Linked DNA regions of Homo sapiens: regions 1 and 3 are each linked to region 2. The links are contacts of gene promoters, found by promoter capture Hi-C in human tissues and cell types (Jung and others, 2019). All regions are on one chromosome and are shown on one strand. The core of a region is centred on a gene start or on the middle of the fragment in contact, and the rest is flanking DNA. Distances in the headings are between cores, read along the strand shown.

What was found. The method cuts DNA at HindIII sites, captures the fragments that hold promoters and counts their contacts. A contact is called where the count stands out against the background at its distance.
Region 1: a contact is called between a fragment that was not itself captured here and the fragment with the promoter of DEPDC1 in region 2, in 1 of the 25 tissues and cell types used here (dorsolateral prefrontal cortex).
Region 3: a fragment that was not itself captured here is called in contact with the fragment with the promoter of DEPDC1 in region 2 in 2 of the 25 tissues and cell types used here (dorsolateral prefrontal cortex and spleen).

What each region holds. Positions count from the first base shown.
Region 1 is chr1:70,106,539-70,109,342 of GRCh38, forward strand. It overlaps LRRC7 (leucine rich repeat containing 7), which reads left to right. Exons shown (of 27, transcript NM_001370785.2): 26 at 1,214-1,288. Among named protein-coding and RNA genes, the nearest start is that of LRRC7-AS1, 66 kb to the left of the region's middle. The HindIII fragment of the contact is 3,848 bases long and covers 1-2,804 here.
Region 2 is chr1:68,495,684-68,498,658 of GRCh38, forward strand. It overlaps DEPDC1 (DEP domain containing 1), which reads right to left and starts at 1,399. Exons shown (of 12, transcript NM_001114120.3): 1 at 1,269-1,399. The coding sequence starts at 1,316. DEPDC1-AS1 (DEPDC1 antisense RNA 1) reads left to right here and starts at 993. Exons shown (of 3, transcript NR_110671.1): 1 at 993-1,088. RefSeq lists enhancers at 1,080-1,129, 1,240-1,299. The HindIII fragment of the contact is 14,129 bases long and covers 1-2,975 here.
Region 3 is chr1:70,139,509-70,142,208 of GRCh38, forward strand. LRRC7 (leucine rich repeat containing 7) reads left to right here. Exons shown (of 27, transcript NM_001370785.2): 27 at 1-2,700. Among named protein-coding and RNA genes, the nearest start is that of LRRC40, 65 kb to the right of the region's middle. RefSeq lists an enhancer at 1,256-1,757. The HindIII fragment of the contact is 4,443 bases long and covers 1-2,700 here.

The DNA of each region.
Region 1 (2,804 bases), core at 92-2,591, 1.6 Mb after region 2:
TCATCAGTTTATTCTTGGAATGTCAATTAAAATCTTATCACAATCATGTTTAAAATCTTTCAGTAGCACCTGAAATTAGTAAGAAGGTTTATGAAAGGCCATCTTAATCTTGCCCTAACCTACTTTTTGGCCTGATCCTCTGCTGCGCTCCCAATCCCATCCACTACCACCCTTCCATCAGCACTCCAGCCATAGCAGAACCACTTGAAATTTCCCAGATATAACAGGCACACTCACTTATGTGCTGTCCCCTCTCTCTGCAATTTCCTTCTTCCCCTTACCTGTGTGGATGACTTTTGTGTGTTCTTTGTTATTCAGCTATCAGGTATCTTCTCCTCTTGGAAGAACCTAACACACAAATATAAGCTGGGTGCAACATATTTTTACAATCTGTTATACCTCTATCATAACACTTGTCACAATGTTTATAATTATTGGTTTTCTTGACTTCTCCTCCACTAGATTGTGAGCTCATTAAAGTCAGAAACTATATTCTGTCTATCTCTATATCATGAGCCATCCAGGCCTAGCATGTGATAGACATTCAATATATGTTTTCTTTCTATACATGGTCAATGAAATTAATTTGACTTTCTTATAAACTGCATTAATCAATTTAGGGATTTTATAACCACATAGTCATAAACTTTATTTAAAATGCATGTTCCAGTTTGCTTATGTTTAATTTGTTCATATACATTTTATATTAAAATTCTCAGTAACATATGAAACAATATGCATTAAAATAAACCAGTCGTATATATAATTCTAGTAAAGCTTTTAAAGTATACAATGAACTTATAACCTATCAAATAGAGATACTTTTTCAAATACCTTCAACTGCCTTTAATGGAGACATAGTTAAGTAGAATAACTGAAGACAAATTCAGAATTTATACAAAAAATGATTCAGCATCACATTTCAAATGATTTAAGGAAAAAATCATTAAGAATATGCCATGAGATCAATTTATAAATCATAATTGCACTTTCAAAACAAGATAAGCTTCTTTTTGCAAGCAAAAATGTTGCTTCTCTTAAACTTGACTTGGAGAGTGCTGCCTTGCTTAAAATACTATAATATTCTTTGAAGCCTACATGCATAAACTGTTTCTGGATCTGTTTTCACTGTTTTCTATGTGAATGAAGATTTGTTTAAGTAGGCCTGGTTCTTGGTAATAGAATCCTAACCTCTGTTACTTCTGACTTATAGGGTATCTTTGTTACTAGGGTTCAGCCTGATGGGCCAGCATCAAACCTACTGCAGCCTGGTGATAAGATCCTTCAGGTAAGACAGATAAAAGAAATGCATGCAAATGCCATACTGAGACAAATATGTAACCATGTTACCAAGTTAAATGATTTGAATTAAATGATTGAAAATAAGTCCTTCTCACATTGCTTATTTGCCTTTATTATTTTGGGGCTGAAAGTCAAGTCAAAAACAATTCAGTCTGACAAATCTTATATCCCTAGCACCTTACACAGTACTTGGCACATGACAGATGTTTTGCATATTTTTGTTGAATTGAATGGAATTACTTGATAATATAAGAAATATATATATTATATATATATATTAATCTATGCATAGTTATCAAGTAAGAGTAAGTTCCCAAACACAGTATGTGTGTGACTTTCATGAGGGAGAAGGAACTGGTCCATATTTAATTTCTCAACCACAGGCTTATTACTGTTTGAATGCTATGAAATATATAATACATCATTCTACTCCCCCTGCTTAGATAAACAAAAGTTTAGCTCTATATAAGGTGACTTTTAAAAATGCATTGTGTGATGGAAGATGACTTTCACTAACTTAAAGCTCTGCATATCAGAAAAGGTTCACCCCAATAAACAATTAAGCAAATACTTTACATAAACTCATTTATTTGACTTTTTTTGTCCTTCTCTCTGAATTCACTGTCTTTAATTTTTTGCTTTGTTTCTTATCAGTGATTTGAAGCTCATTAATTCACTTCCTATATAAGAGGTGCATAATCATTTTCTACATTCCAAGGAAAAGCTCTTAAGCATTATCGATGTATTTAAGCTTCAGTATTTTGACTTAGAACCCCAGAAATTTCCCGTTATATAAATAGGTGGAACTACTTGATACTGCTGATATTTGACCATCTGCAACAGTTATGAAATGGCTCAACATAATATACTGAACATTTAGATTCACTGAGAAGACAAGACATGTGAAAAGAACCTTAGATCAGCTATACAAACACAGTTGACATGTGAAAAAGGAACCTTAGATCAACTATACAAACACAGTTTAAAAATGCAAGGATCCCCTCAAGTCAGCTCCAAGGAGATCTTCTATCTCCAATGTACTGCGTTCTCTCAGAAAGTCCTAGAAAAGTAGAAATCCTAAGATTGCTTTAACATTTCATTCTCAGAAATGTTTTTTGGTTTTTTTGTTGTTGTTGTTTGGTGGTGGTGTTTTGTTCTGTTGTTGTTGTTGTTTTGTTTTTGTTTTTGTTTTTGTTTTGAGACAGCCTTTCACTCTTATTGCCCAGGCTGGAGTGCAATGGCACGATCTCGGCTCACCACAACCTCCACCTCCCGGGTTCAAGCAATTCTCCTGCCTCAGCCTCCCAAGTAGCTGGGATTACAGGAATGCGCCACCACACTCAGCTAATTTTTGTATTTTTAGTAGAGACAGGGTTTCTCCATGCTGGTCAGGCTGATCTCGAACTCCCAACCTCAGGTGGTCTGCCCGCCTTGGCCTCCCAAAGTGCTGGGATTACAGACATGAGCCACTGCGCCCGGCCTCTCCGAAATATTTTAAACTA
Region 2 (2,975 bases), core at 149-2,648:
TGGAGTTAGACTAGTAGGGCTGGTTTCCCAGCTCTAGCTCTGCCACTATTGTTTATGACTTTTTGGGCCTATCTTCAATCTCTATGCCTCAATCTCCTTAACCACAAAACAGGGACAAAAGGACCTAACGAATGGGCTTATTGGAATGATAAAATGATGTAATATATGTGAAGTACTAGTAAGCATTCAGTGCATGTTTTCTTTTTCAGCGTGCTTATACTACTTTCATCTAATGGGTTTTAAATAATGTGGCAGGACTACTGATTGAGGTTCCTTCCTGTCCTAAATTCTATCCTTCATATTGGTAAATATAGCCAATAACTTACTAAGTAGCAGAATCCATGTAAGATCGCCATACCAGGAAGATCTGAATTCTAGCTCTGCCACTTGCTGTTGATGTGACTCTAGAGGGCATTTAACGTCTGTGAGCCTCAGTGTGCACCTGATAAAGTAGGGCTAATAATACATGCTCGTCTGAAGGGCATTCCTAAGAGGAAAATGCTTGTTATTCTGCAGATCACAACACACTTTAAAAAACAGCATCCTCCTGGGAAACCCCTTAAGGCAAGCATGTATTAGTAACCTTTACCAATGTGGAAACAGGCTCACAGAAGGTAGGGGACTCACCTAACGTCACATAACCAGCACCACAGTATCCTATAGAACCGAAGACCCAACTGCACAAAACGCGTTAGGAGTGCTGTACGTGCAATTCAGGGACCACCAGCAGTGGTTACTGATGGGTACTCAGAAATACCGTTTTGAAACAGGCAGCTGTTATCCTAGTGCTATTCGGCCGATACATCCTGCGTTAAATTCTATGGGTTCAATAAACAAAATTGCCACATTCGGGCTTGCCCCCCACCTAACCCTACAAAGCTTTGGACCTCATTCCCAATTGTTCCCTAATTCTGAGGCGGGTAGAAAATCAGGCGAGGTGAGCGGCCAAATCGGAATATTCTAAGACGCCCCCACGGGACGCCGGCCACACCAGGCACAGGAGTCGCTCCTCATAGCGAGTCTGGTGCGGCCTACGCGCGGCGCTTCCTTTCGGACCTGAGGCCCAGACCCTCAAAATAGAGGGAGCGGTGAGTCTGGCAAGGGTTGCATACCCGCTACTTCTCCTCGCCAGCCTTTTCACTGAACCTAGGGATCCTGGGACTCATCCCTCCGACCGAGGTAAAACTGCGAACGGTCGAGGTAAAACTGCGAACAGTGGTGACTGCCGTCAGCCCGCTGACCGGTCCCGTCTATCCGAGCTGTCTTACCAGCTTGGTGGCCCGATAAGGCCCGGGAGGCACACCCTGACTCTCCATAGGTCTGTCAGCGCCCGGTGGCGTCCATGGCGGCGAAGGCGACACTCAGGCCCAGCGGCCGCGGCAGTGGCGAGTCTCGGCACAACCGTTGGCCCCGCCGCCGATTTGAATAGCATAGAGGGCTGCGCGGATTGGCCGCGCCGCGGGTCACGTGACGCCACAGCCAGGCTCGGGAAGGAGTCGGCGAGGGCCGCTCGGCTGCGTCCTGGGGCTCCAGTAGCTGGCGCGGGCTGGGGTGGGCTGGGCTGGCCTGGGACCGCCTCGATGGGACAGGCTCGGGTTTCCCTGGCGCTGTTTCTCCCTCCTGCGGTCTACGGCGAGGCGGAGTCACAGAGTCCTGTTTTCGTGCTCAGAGGGGATGAGCTCTTTAGTTCCAAACGAAATTATTTGGAGTCCAGCCTTTGGTTTAAGGGAATTTGAAATTTGAAAAGACAAGAAAATACGGTTTTTCTGCCTGGCCCTACAGGATCTTCAGCAGTTAGCTTAGAAGGCAAAGCAACCTGATGGATATGTGTCGCAGTTTCTCTCTCTGCTGCCTATCCTCTCTCTCAGCAGGTGCCATGATTCTCTGAAGTGCTAAAATCTAGGTTCAGAACCCCCTAATTGTGCAGTAAAATGGATCATTCAGAACCCCCCAGTTGGGTAATAAAATGGATTATAGGTAGTCTTTCTTAAGTACATACAATGTGGGGCTTGGGAAAGGTTGTGTACAACTTGTCAAATTGCTTCCCTTAAACTCTACCACTGTATAAGAATGTTGGTTATGTTTGGATCGTGATTATACACTTAAAATTTCACTAGGATCTTAGAAAATAAATCTTCAACAGAAGTCAATTTTCAAATGACAAAAACTACATTCCGAGAGTTGAAGAGACTTACTCAGTCTTAGGTCTCCTTGGCAAAGCACAGACTTCATGCTTTTAATAAATACCCTGTCACCAGTCTGAAACTATCTGATGCTAAGAATCCCTTAGTAAAGTGGGAGATTGCTTGAGTGATTTGAAGCTGTGGAAGAATTCACTTGGAAATTAAATAGCAGTTTAAGAGGATAGGATGCAGTAAAAAGAAGAGATAAAGAAAAATGTTCAGGGAGTGGTAGTGTAGGTCTGTGGAGTTTTCCTTAATTTGGGCAGAAGCACATCTATTTTCTACCAGGACCAGTGGGTAGGAATTTTCAAAAACATACTTGGTAAACAGGAACAATCTACTCAATTTTCCACTTATGTTAAGGAAAAGTAAAATGATTGATGTTACAAAATAATGTTAACTGTTTCTTACCTGGCTTTATGATACATTGTCCCAGGATTTTCGTTTTTCTTTTCTTTTTCCTTTCAGAAGGAAATGGAGATGAGACTGTGGAAGCCAAAATTTATTTTTGCCCAGCTCCCCAAGTTGAAAATCATCTCACATACAGCCTTTGATATAGGTAGCCACAGCTTAATAGTACCTTAATAATCCACTGTGGCTGTGGATTCACTCTGCACCATCCACTTTCACATTTATAGTGTCTTTAGATGATAAAATATTTAAAAGTTAGGTTTTTGTTAAATGTGAGTGGTCTGAGTTTCTTTAAGGTAACTTTACATACCTTTGCTCTTAACAATTATTCATTGATTGCATAGTTTAAATCTTGGAAGTCATTTTATTTCCTCTCATTAC
Region 3 (2,700 bases), core at 46-2,545, 1.6 Mb after region 2:
CTCTAGCCCTACCCATTGCCCAGGTGGACGTTATGTTTTTAGTTTTTCCTTTGTGGGTGAGGGAAGAAGAGGACATCAGGTGAAGTGTGCCATTACTATTTGAAAACTAGCTCTGCAGGAAGGGTTAAATCAAATCCTTTACAGGGTGACCTTCCTACATCTCCTTAGAGCAACTGCATTTCAAAATAGGCCAAAGCTGAAGTCATAGGAATGAGACATTAATTGTAGGTTTTCAGGAAAGCTTCGGAGACACGGCAGGTACAGTCTCCTTAGAGCCTTTGAAAATACAACATGTAGGTCCTTCTCAGATTATGCTGAAACTCCAAATCCTTGTTAAAGGTTTTCCTGGACTCCTACAGTCTGGTTTGATCAGTTTATTATTAAGTACTGAATGACAGAGAAGGGTACACAGGGAGGACTTGTATCACATGAAGTAAAATAATTATTTCCTTAATGAGAAACTTAATTCTAGGGTACTTACAATAGCTGCCTTATTGGGGGAAGGGAGGCATAGATTTGCAAATGGTGGGTTTTTTCGTTTTTTTGTGTGTTGGAGTAATTGAAAAGATACATCAAGCAATAATAAACTAGATGTGCAATAATCTTGTCGAGTAGTATGTGCTGGTTTTGGAAAGGTGAAAAGAAAATTGTTACATCAGGCTGCTTTTATCAAGCTAAGCATGGGCATGCCTTTCCAAAGGGTATATTTGATCCTACAGTTAATTTTAACATTGGGCTGCAAGCTTAACCTCATCAGGAGTGGAATTAGATTTTACAAAGTTCCCCTTATCCAAACTACAGCACGCTTACTACTTTCTCCTTCCATTTTCCACACCTCAGCCCCCTAGGACCAGCTACTGGTAAGTCATTTTGTCCATTTTCATTGATCTGGCCACATAAGGAACATCCTGTTTCTTTAAATCCTCAATGCTTAAATTGCCATGTAGAAATCAACTCCCTATCAATTTTCTACATTTAATCCTTGGCTTCTTGTCATATTTTCATTTTTCTGCACTGGTTCCCATGGCAACAAGTCTGTTGGCAGAGAAAGTATGACTCTGCTTTTAGCCTTCTGCACAAGACAAAATCCTTCTGGTGATCCTCAGGCAAGTATAATATAAAAAGTCAGGAATTGACTACAGTTCCCTTGGCTAATGCCTCTAATCCTTTACTCTCTTGCATGCATTTTCCACCTTATTCCCAAACCAGGCTTGAGAAAAAAAGCATTCAAGGGCCCTGCCCAGTATCTCTTTACTGATACAAGTATTCAAAGGCCCTCCTATCCAATCACAGCCACAAAGACTGAATATTTTGGTTCAGATGGCTTTCCCTTCTCCCTAAGTGTCAGTGACTTAACTGACATAAATGCATAATTAATGACAAGGACCACTGGGAGCAGCATCGAGAAGCAACTTTCAGTCATTTTTCTATAAACAACTTTCCTCAGTTCGCAACTGAGGTGTAGCCCAGGGAATAAGTATGTCCTGAATTGAGCCTTAAATCAGTGACTAATAAGGCAATGGAACACTCAAGCAGATTTTCCTCTAATGAGTAGTTAAGTGGCACAGGAGGAGAGGCCAAGGAGTCATCCCAGAGTTCTAAGCTCATAAAGAGGAAGAGATAACAAAAGATGTAGATAAGAGGACATTGTTAACTGGTGGCTGCAAATGAGCAAGGGAGCTTCATTCAGTTGGGACAATTCAGGGTTCAGGTACGAAAAGGGTATGAAGCCTACTGAAAAATAAGGAAATGGAGCATGGAGAAAGAAAGGGTTTTTAAGAGTTAAGTCAGTAGAAAGGGAGCCTGCAAATGAGACAATAGCTTCATGCAGACTTTGGCCCAACTCTGTCTACAAATACTTTTGCAAATAATGTTTCTCTTAATAAAATGATATATTTTGTTTTGAACTTTGGAATTCCATTGTGGCTTGGCACTAAATTATAGGCCTAGCAATCCTAAATCTCCTATGTCCTCAATATCTAGAAACAAGCAGGAACTGTTTGTCAGAAATTAAACAGGACTTATTTGAATGTGCTTTAAAAAAAAAATCAATGAATTCAGGGGAATGAAAATACATGTTAGAAATTAAAATGTGGTTATCTCAGCTATAGTTAAGAAAATTATCAAATGTAAATGATCCCTTTTTTGCTGGATCTTATAAAATATGTGATACTTAAGTACACTGAAGTTTTAAAGTTAGCTGCTTATATTGTACAAAGATATTTTTGGCTCTTTAAAGGTTATTTTCCTATATTAAGAAAAGGTTTCTTATATTGAAAACTTTTATGGTGACTCAGGTTTTGTGTCTATGTATAGGCACACATAAATAGGAGGTGTTTTTCTTTGCACATTTGTTTTGCACAGCTAAAATAATGAGGTTAAATAATGCCCAGGTATGCAGGTCAATTGACCTTTTTAATAGCTTAACGAAAGCATTTGACAAATGGACAAAAGAAATCACATTGTATTTCTTTGTATCTCTCCATTCCTCTTACCCTTCCCCAACCCTCTACTAAAGAATATTTCTTATTTAGTCAGGAAATCTTATGTAATATTTTTGGACGGTCCATAGGAAAAGCAAGATGAAACTCTCAGGCAGACAACATAAAGCAGCTCCCATATCTGCTAGAAAGGTCATTAATTTTCAGAATATATTGTTGAAATAATTTTTATTTTCAATACTTGTAGTCTTTCCACTCA